Linked DNA regions of Homo sapiens: region 1 is linked to region 2. The links are contacts of gene promoters, found by promoter capture Hi-C in blood cells and fetal thymus (Javierre and others, 2016). All regions are on one chromosome and are shown on one strand. The core of a region is centred on a gene start or on the middle of the fragment in contact, and the rest is flanking DNA. Distances in the headings are between cores, read along the strand shown.

The links. The method cuts DNA at HindIII sites, captures the fragments that hold promoters and counts their contacts. A CHiCAGO score of 5 or more calls a contact.
Region 1: a contact is called between a fragment that was not itself captured here and the fragment with the promoter of ZHX3 in region 2, in 9 of 17 cell types (naive CD4 T cells, naive CD8 T cells, total CD8 T cells and 6 more). The highest score is 11.2, in naive CD4 T cells.

What each region holds. Positions count from the first base shown.
Region 1 is chr20:41,235,231-41,240,213 of GRCh38, reverse strand. All of the region lies in intron 2 of ZHX3 (zinc fingers and homeoboxes 3), which reads left to right. Among named protein-coding and RNA genes, the nearest start is that of MIR6871, 69 kb to the right of the region's middle. The HindIII fragment of the contact is 2,854 bases long and covers 1,950-4,803 here.
Region 2 is chr20:41,316,251-41,320,608 of GRCh38, reverse strand. ZHX3 (zinc fingers and homeoboxes 3) reads left to right here and starts at 2,878. Exons shown (of 4, transcript NM_001384317.1): 1 at 2,878-3,100. RefSeq lists an enhancer at 2,449-2,498 and silencers at 2,609-3,058, 3,069-3,358. The HindIII fragment of the contact is 7,702 bases long and covers 1-4,358 here.

The sequences.
Region 1 (4,983 bases), core at 2,127-4,626, 81 kb after region 2:
GCCTGGCCAACATGGCAAAACCCCCCATCTCTACTAAAAAAATACAAAAATTAGCCTGGCATGGTGGCATGCACATGCAGTCCCAGCTACTTGGAAGGCTGAGGCAGGAGAATCGCTTAAACCTGGGAGGCAGAGGTTGCAGTGAGCCAAGATGGCGCCACTGCCCTCCAGCCTGGGCAACAGAGCAAGAGACTGTCTCAAAAAAAAAAAAGGAATGGCCTATTGAGTGTGACTGCATCTTTCCAAACTAAGCCTCCTGCTTTACCTATTTTCTCTTAAACACAGTTCCAAGACATTCTTCTCCTTGGGTTTCCCTTCAAAAGAATTTATCTCTGTATAAGAATAAACATTTGTCTTTGTTAAACGATAAAAATAGTGTCACTTAAAATACATTTCCATATTTTCCCTTGATACTGGGAATCACAGGGTCAAATTCAGTGCCAGGTGAAGGGTGGAGGGCATTCTAATTGTTCCCCTTCTCACAATGTCTCTTCTCCCTCCCTCCCCAGTCCCTTCCATAGGAAACAGGGAATGTTTGTTTCTGTCTTCTGGTAGGAGAAGGATTGGTCCCACCCCCAGCTCCAGGGATGGATCTTGATTGTTTAAGCCCAGTCAGGTAAACCCCACACCTGTTGCACAGTGATTAACCCAGTGGCAGTCATGCCAAGAGGTTTGTTCATGGCTGGGCATGTGACCTGTGCAGGCCACCAGCATGCTTGCTGAGGACTTTGGGAAGAAGGCTCTTCAGTCTTCTGATAGACCTCCCCAAGACGGCCCTCTCTCTGTGTCCTTCTGGATGTTTGGGACATGAAGCTTGGGGCTGCTGGAGTTACCTTGCTGTCACGAGGGAAGCTACCCCTAGGATGTGGTTGACGAAGTAGAAAGAAAGAAAATAGGCCCTTATTGGCCAGGCACGGTGGCTCACGCCTGTAATCCCAGCACTTTGGGAGGCCGAGGCGGGCGGATCACGAGGTCAGGAGACCGAGAGCATCCTGGCTAACATGGTGAAACCCCGTTTCTACTAAAAAATACAAAAAAAAAAAATTAGCGGGGCATGGTGGTGGGCGCCTATAGCCCCAGCTACTCGGGAGGCTGAGGCAGGAGAATGGCGTGAACCCAGGAGGCGGAGCTTGCAGTGAGCCGAGATCATGCCACTGCACTCCAGCCTGGGCGACAGAGCAAGACTCCGTCTCCCAAAAAAAAAAAAAAAAAAAAAAAAAAGAGAGAGAAAATAGGCCCTTGTTTTCATCATAGAGCAACTGACTCAAACTCAACCTGAAGCCGCTGAACTTTCCATTTGCATGTGCCAGCAAACCACCTTTATTATGTAAGCCCTTTCAAATTAGGTTTCTTACTTGCATCTTAGAATCCAAATGGTGCTTAATAGATACATTTCCTTGTATTTTGTGTGTTTTAGTGATTCTAACCCATGGACCAAGACCCTGCCTTGGAGATTGGGGAACAGGTGTTGGAAGGGCTCTATTTTGGCAAAGAATGGATTATTTATGTGAGCATATTTCCGCAAAGTAAGGAAATGTCTTGCCTATATATGTATTAATATTTTTCAAATTTATCTTGTTTTGATGAAATATAAATTTAGATAAAAATACTAAAAATACTGAATTTGTAGGTTTTTATCCTGCATTTTTCACAATGAGCAGATGTTAGAAGCATCATGTAAATTTGTCCAAAAAGATGTTGTTTTTTGCAGAAATTTTTGACTTGAGGAAGAAGCTCTTGCTTAGATAGATGTTTCCACCCTCTGTCCCTCCTTCTTTTCCTTCCTTCTTCTCTTCTCCAGCCTTCACTCCCTGCTGCCTTCCTTTTTTTCCCTCTTAGTCTCTGTTATTACCCTGTTTTCCTTCTGTTGAGTCTTGTTACTCAAACTCTGTTAGAAATAGTTGAGATATAAATTCTAATTAATTTTATTTGGATGCCTATGTTAAGCTTCATTTAACTTTTCAGATCCTGCATCTATGAGTTCGACATAAATGCAAACAAATAATGGGTATTGAGTGCTTTAATAGCAAGGGACCCAAACTGAAGTTCATTCCCCATGCAACAAATTGGGTGTTGGATGGGAATGCTTATAATGATTGACCCCGGTTTTTGGTAGTAAGCAAGCAACTGCAAGTGAACTGTAACTGATGTATTTAATGAGTGCTCACTGTGTGCACATTGCCATTAGTGTAGCTGAGTGGTGCAGCACTGAACCCTTACCTCAAAGATCTTATAGTTCATTGGAGAGAAGAGACATGTACACCAGATACTGTGTAAGCCAGGGCTGTGTTTTATAAGGGAATATGTAAGTTGACATCTGGAACCTCTTTCTTAGAATTATCCTACCAGAAGAGCCCTCTAGAACCTTGTGTTTAATAAATATTGATCACCGCCATTATAAAATATGCTGTTTGTTAATAAAACATATTTTCTTTATTTTATTTTATTTTTTTAATTATACTTTAAGTTTTAGGGTACATGTGCACAACGTGCAGGTTTGTTACATATACATGTGCCATGTTGGTGTGCTGCACCCATTAGCTCTTCATTTAACATTAAGTATATCTCCTAATGCTATCCCTCCCCACTCCTCCTACCCCACAACAGGCCCTGGTGAGTGATGTTCCCCTTCCTGTGTCTGTGTGTTCTCATTGTTCAATTCCCACCTATGAGTGAGAACATGCGGTGTTTGGTTTTTTGTCCTTGCGATAGTTTGCTGAGAATGATGGTTTCCAGCTTCATCTATGTCCTTACAAAGGACATGAACTCATCATTTTTTATGGCTGCATAGTATTCCATGGTGTATATGTGCCACATTTTCTTAATCCAGTCTATCTTTGTTGGACATTTGGGTTGGTTCCAAGTCTTTGTTATTGTGAATAGTGCCGCAATAAACATACATGTGCATGTGTCTTTATAGCAGCATGTTTTATAATCCTTTGGGTATATACCCAGTAATGGGATGGCTGGGTCAAATGGCATTTCTAGTTCTAGATCCCTGAGGAATCGCCACACTGACTTCCACAATGGTTGAACTAGTTTACAGTCCCCCCAACAGTGTAAAAGTGTTCCTATTTTTCCAGATCCTCTCTAGCACCTGTTGTTTCCTGACTTTTTAATGATTGCCATTCTAACTGGTGTGAGATGGTATCTCATTGTGGTTTTGATTTGCATTGCTCTGATAGCCAGTGATGATGAGCATTTTTTCATGTGTCTTTTGGCTGCATAAATGTCTTCTTTTGAGAAGTGTCTGTTCATATCCTTTGCCCACTTGTTGATGGGGTTGTTTTTTTCTTGTAAATTTGTTTGAGTTCTTTGTGGATTCTGGATATTAGCCCTTTGTCAGATGGGTAGATTGCAAAAATTTTCTCCCATTCTGTAGGTTGCCTGTTCACTCTGATGGTAGTTTCTTTTGCTTTGTAGAAGCTCTTCAATTAGATCCCATTTGTCAATTTTGGCTTTTGTTGCCATTGCTTTTGGTGTTTTAGACATGAAGTCCTTGCCCATGCCTATGTCCTGAATGGTATTGCCTAGGTTTTCTTCTAGGGTTTTTATGGTTTTACGTCTAACATTTAAGTCTTTAATCCATCTTGAATTAATTTTTGTATAAGGTGTAAGGAAGGGATCCAGTTTCAGCTTTCTACATATGGCTAGCCCGTTTTCCCAGCACCGTTTATTAAATAGGGAATCCTTCCCCCATTTCTTGTTTTTGTCAGGTTTGTCAAAGATCAGATGGTTGTAGATATGTGGCATTATTTCTGAGGGCTCTGTTCTGTTCCATTGGTCTACATCTCTGTTTTGGTACCAGTACCATGCTGTTTTGGTTACTGTAGCCTTGTAGTATAGTTTGAAGTCAGGTAGCATGATGCCTCCAGCTTTGTTCTTTTGGCTTAGATTGACTTGGCAATGCGGGCTCTTTTTTGGTTCCATATGACCTTTAAAGTAGTTTTTTCCAATTCTGTGAAGAAAGTCATTGGTAGCTTGATGGGGTTGGCATTGAATCTGTAAATTACCTTGGACAGTATGGCCATTATCACGATATTGATTCTTCCTACCCATGAGCATGGAATGTTCTTCCATTTGTTTGTATCCTCTTTTATTTCATTGAGCAGTGGTCTGTAGTTCTCCTTGAAGAGGTCCTTCACATCCCTTGTTAGTTGGATTCCTAGGTATTTTATTCTCTTTGAAGCAATTGTGAATGGGAGTTCACTCATGATTTGGCTCTCTGTTTGTCTGTTATTGGTGTATCGGAATGCTTGTGATTTTTGCACATTGATTTTGTATGCTGAGACTTTGCTGAAGTTGCTTATCAGCTTAAGGAGATTTTGGGCTGAGATGATGGGGTTTTCTAGATATACAATCATGTCATCTGCAAACAGGGACAATTTGACTTCCTCTTTTCCTAATTGAATACCCTTTATTTCCTTCTCCTGCCTGATTGCCCTGGCCAGAACTTCCAACACTATGTTGAATAGGAGTGGTGAGAGAGGGCATTCCTGTCTTGTGCCAGTTTTCAAAGGGAATGCTTCCAGTTTTTGCCATTCAGTATGATATTGGCTGTGGGTTTGTCATAGATAGCTCTTACTATTTTGAGATACGTCCCATCAATACCTAATTTATTGAGAGTTTTTAGCATTAAGGGCTGTTGAATTTTGTCAAAGGCCTTTTCTGCATCTATTGAGATAATCATGTGGTTTTTGTCTTTGGTTCTGTTTATATGATGGATTACATTTATTGATTTGCATATGTTGAACCAGCCTTGCATCCTAGGTATGAAGCCAACTTGGTCATGGTAGATAAGCTTTTTGATGTGCTGCTGGATTCGGTTTGCCAGTATTTTATTGAGGATTTTTGCATCGATGTTCATCAGGGATATTGGTCTAAAATTCTCTTTTTTTATTGTGTCTCTGCCAGGCTTTAGTATCAGGATAATAAAACATGTTTTCTATTCTACCTTTTTCTTGGCCATGTTTTTTAGCTATA
Region 2 (4,358 bases), core at 1,629-4,128:
CTATACTAGCAGTTTCCTTACTGCTTGAGAAAGCTCATTAGAATGTGAGTGCAAATGACATTATTATAGGGATTACCTGAAATCTGCTTAATTTTTTTTAAAGGAAAGTAATATGCCTCTGTGTGTAAATATCATTTGTGACATACCCCCCAACACTGGTATTAAATGGCTGTTTCTTCTGCCTGGAATCTCTGTCTCAACAACTCTTTAGATGTGGCCCCAAAGTCACCTTTTCTGGGAAGCCTACCCACACTCTCCTGTATATTGTTAATTATGCTATTCTCTGTGCTTCCCAAAGCAGTTGGCACATCCATCTTTGTTACATATTTTCTCCCAGAAGTTTTTTGTTTGTTTGTTTTTGAGACAGAGTTTCGCTCTTGTTGCCCAGGCTGGAGTGTAATGCTGCAAACTCGCTCACTGCAACCTGTGCTTCCCGGGTTCAAGTGATTCTCCTGCCTCAGCCTCCCAAGTAGCTGGGATTACAGGTGCGCCTCACTATGCCTGGCTAATTTTTGTATTTTGAGTAGAGATGGGGTTTCACCATGTTGGTCAGGCTGGTCTCGAACTCCTGACCTCAGATGATTCATCCACCTAAGCCTCCCAAAGTGCTGGGATTACAGGCGTGAGCCACTGTGCCCGGCCAGAAGTATTTTTTTTACATGACTGTTTCCTCTGAAATACTGTTCCTCAAAGGTCGGGAGAATACCTCATTTTTCTCAGGATCCCACTGTGCCTGGATCAAAATAGATGCTCAGAAAAGTTTGTTGAATAAATGAAGTTGTATTGGAGCAGTATAACCTATATACATTCTCATTCATCCCAGAAATACTTATTGAGTACCTGAACATGTCGACCCATGTTCTAGATGTTGAAGATGGGAAAAACAAAGTTCCCACCTTCAGAGATATTATAGATGATATTCAGGTTAGAAGGGCTAGGCAGAAAAGTAAAGCAGGCTTAGAGGATAGTGATTGGAGTTGGGACTTGATACTTTAGTAGAGTGGTCTGGGAAAGTCTGGGGAGGTGACTTTTGAGTAGAAACTTGGAAAGCACACGCCTTTCTGATATCTGGAGGAAGCAACACCAAGTACAGAGGTTCTGAAGTAGAAGTGAGCCTCCATATTCCAGGAGCAAGAAGGAGGCTAGTGTGCCTGGCATGCAATGAGGAGGCCGAGTGGAAGGAGGTGCAGTTAGAGAGGTGGAGAGTATAAGTGGACGAAGGGCAGACACATAGGATCTTGGAAGCCTTTGGGAAAAAAACCACATTTTGGAAATGAAAAAAATAGGTGGGCATGGTGGCGTGCACCTGTAGTCCTAGCTACCTGGGAGGCTGAGGTGGGAGGATTGCTTGAGTTTGGGAGGTTGAGGCTGCAGTGAGCTGTGATGGGGCCACTGCACTCTAACCTGGGAGACAGAGTGAGACTGTGTCCCACTCTCCACCCCACTGCCCCCATATTTTTTTTTTTTTGGCTTTTACTCTGAGATGGGAAACCTTCTGGGGGCTTTTGAGCTTAGGTTTCAACAGGATCCCTCTGGCTTCTGTGTTGAGAGAAGGCACCATGAGAGCACAGTGGAATCGTGGAGAACAGGCAGGAGGCTACTACAATATTCCAGGAAAGAGGAAAAGGGGTATTTTAAAGGTAGAGCTGACAGGCTTTTCTAATGGGTTGCATGTGGGATATGATAGGGAGAGTGGAGTCCAGGATGACTCCAATGGTTTGTCTGGAGTCATCAGAAGAATGGAGTTGACATGAACTGAGGTAGGGAAGGTTGTGAAAGGAGCAAGCTAAGGTGCCACGTATGGGTGTTTGACTATCGACTTGTTTACTTGGACACATCGCTCACACTTGTGTATATGCTCCCTGGTTTTCAGGATCTGAAGGTTCTAAAGTTACTTGAAGTTAAAGGCAGCCTTACTTATTGAACACCAAGCACTGTGCAGAAATCTTTATATGTGGTGTCATTTAACCCTTTTAATATTTCTACTGATTTACTCATGTTTCATTGCCCTTTTACAGTTGAGAGATTAACACGTCCAAAGTCACTCAGACAATTATTAACCTGCTAGATTAATGCAGATCTGGGATTCCCATCCAGGTGTGTCAAGACCGTAGAGCTCCTGCTGTTTACTAATCACTGGATTCTAAAGGTGGGAGCCACTTTCTGAGCATATTTGCTGCAGACTTGGTTCCATAACTAAAAAGGTGCCTGGATCATGTGACGAGAATTCAGGAAAGAACCCAACCCCATCCCAGGCATTACAGGTTATACAACAGCTATGAAGAAAGGACGGTATTAGTGGACTCGAGGAGGCTGACTGATGTTTGAAAGTTCAAGTACTTGAAGACTCAATGTTAAAACAGTGATCAAGAGTTAGTTTTTTTGTTATTATTCTTAAGAAAACAGAAAATATTAAAAATTGCAGTGAACCCTTGGTTGGATAAAAGACCACTCCTAGTCGACGCTTGTTGGGAAACACTGGAATTGGAGGAGTGGGGGCAGACAGGAGCGAGAGCCCCTGCCAGCCTACACACACATCCTTTTGAAAGTGTAACCTGGTGTGACCTTCTTTAAGTGGTCCTCTGGAAAGAGCAGGATATGGAGTACAAAAGCCAGGAACCTCTGGGACCGCAGCATCCGCCCCCAGCGCCTCCTTCCCCGTCTTCTTCAGCCTCCACACGGTGGGGCGGGGAGGAGGGGGGAGGAGGAGTGCTGGCGCATGCGCCGGGGGCAAGGTCCGCTCCCCGCGACGTCAGGGGGCTCGCACCCGCTCGAAAGCCCCGCCCCGCGGCCGCCAGAGGCGACCTGGGCGGACTGGGGGGCCTGGGCCACGCCCCCAGCCGAGTCGAGCAAGGCCGAGGGGAGCCGTGCAAGGCCGAGCAGAGCCGAGCGCCTCCGAGAGCGGCCGAGCCCAGCCGAGCGGCCCGGAGTCGGTTGGTGCAGCTGCGTCCCCGCCGCTCAGCAGTCCGCGGCTCCGGCGTCGCCGCCGCCGCCGCCTCTGCGGGGCCTGCGCCGGCCGCCCGCCCGGCCGCGGGGAGGGAGGCCCGCAGCGCGGGAAGAGCGGCCCGGTCGCGGGCGCCGCCACCGCCGCCGCTGCCAGGTGAGCGCCCGCCACGGCCAGCCGGCCCCGCGTGCCCCCGCGGCTGTCAGTCCCCGGTGTCTGTATCTCTCTCTGCCTGTCAGACCCTGTGTCTGCGCGAGCTCCTTCCCGCCACGCCTGGCCCGCGGCCGGCCCGCAGTCTCAGTCAGCCCCCTCCCGCCGGCTGCCCCTGGTCTTTCTGTCAGCCGCCAGCACCCCCATGCTGAGAGGCTCCGCCCCTTCCCCCCGGAGCCCCGCCCTCCGCCATCTGTCATCACCCCCCGGGCTCCAGGAGCGGGCGTCCAGGGGTCCTAGGGGTCAGGGTAGCCCCGCGTGCCACCATCGTAGAAGGCGCAAAAGGGGGTGGTAGAGGGGAAGCGGGGGCGTTCGCGCAGGCCCGCCTGACCGTGTGAGAGTGCATGCCCGAGTGTGCGTTCCGCGTGTGCACCCGAGAGCCGCCTGCGTCCACGCCCGAGGGCCCTTGCACTCTGCTGGGATGTGGCAGCCCATGCCCCCGGTGTAAAGAGCGTCAGCTCGACCAGTGAAGGCGGCAGAGCCAGGACTCGAACCACTCGGGGTACAGTAGCACCCTGAATCTTGGGACCCTTGTCTGCCCACGCGAAAACACTACACGTGGGCCCCAGGTCCTCGGATTCCCTGAGTGGCGTGTGAGTGGAGTTTGGAGCTTGTTAAGCCTTCCCAGTTTGGGATTTTCATTCAGGGAAGCCTGTTGGAAGTGATTGAGGAGTGGATGGGATGTAGGACTTAGGTGGGGAGTGTTTGAGGGCTTGAGTCATTTTGAGTTGCATGGTTTACATTTCTGAGCAGTGATTGCCCTGGGCTTGTGCCCTGCGAGAAACTTATGTGACTTGGGGTGGGGGAGTGAGGTAGGAAGGAATGCTCCTTTCTGTTTTTATCTATGTGAACACATAGTATATATTTATCCAGATATCCTAAATGTTTATTCATGAGGCGTCCACACGTCCTTAATTTAAAAAAGGATTACAGTAGTTTCCATTTATACACGTTCTTGTGTGTTGTTATCTCAATGCTCTTTATTTGTGGTAACTTAGTATTGCAATATTTCAAAACTAAGAGAAAATGCATCCTAAAACAATTGGTATTTTGCCGGATAATTCTGAACCACGGAGAAGGAGCCAAAAGCGCACTTCATTAGCTGGAACAACTTATTCGAGCTTAATTTGTTTCTAAGAGACATACAGTGGAAAAATCCAGAAGCGCAAAATAGTATCAAAGACACATAGAAAATGAATGAAAA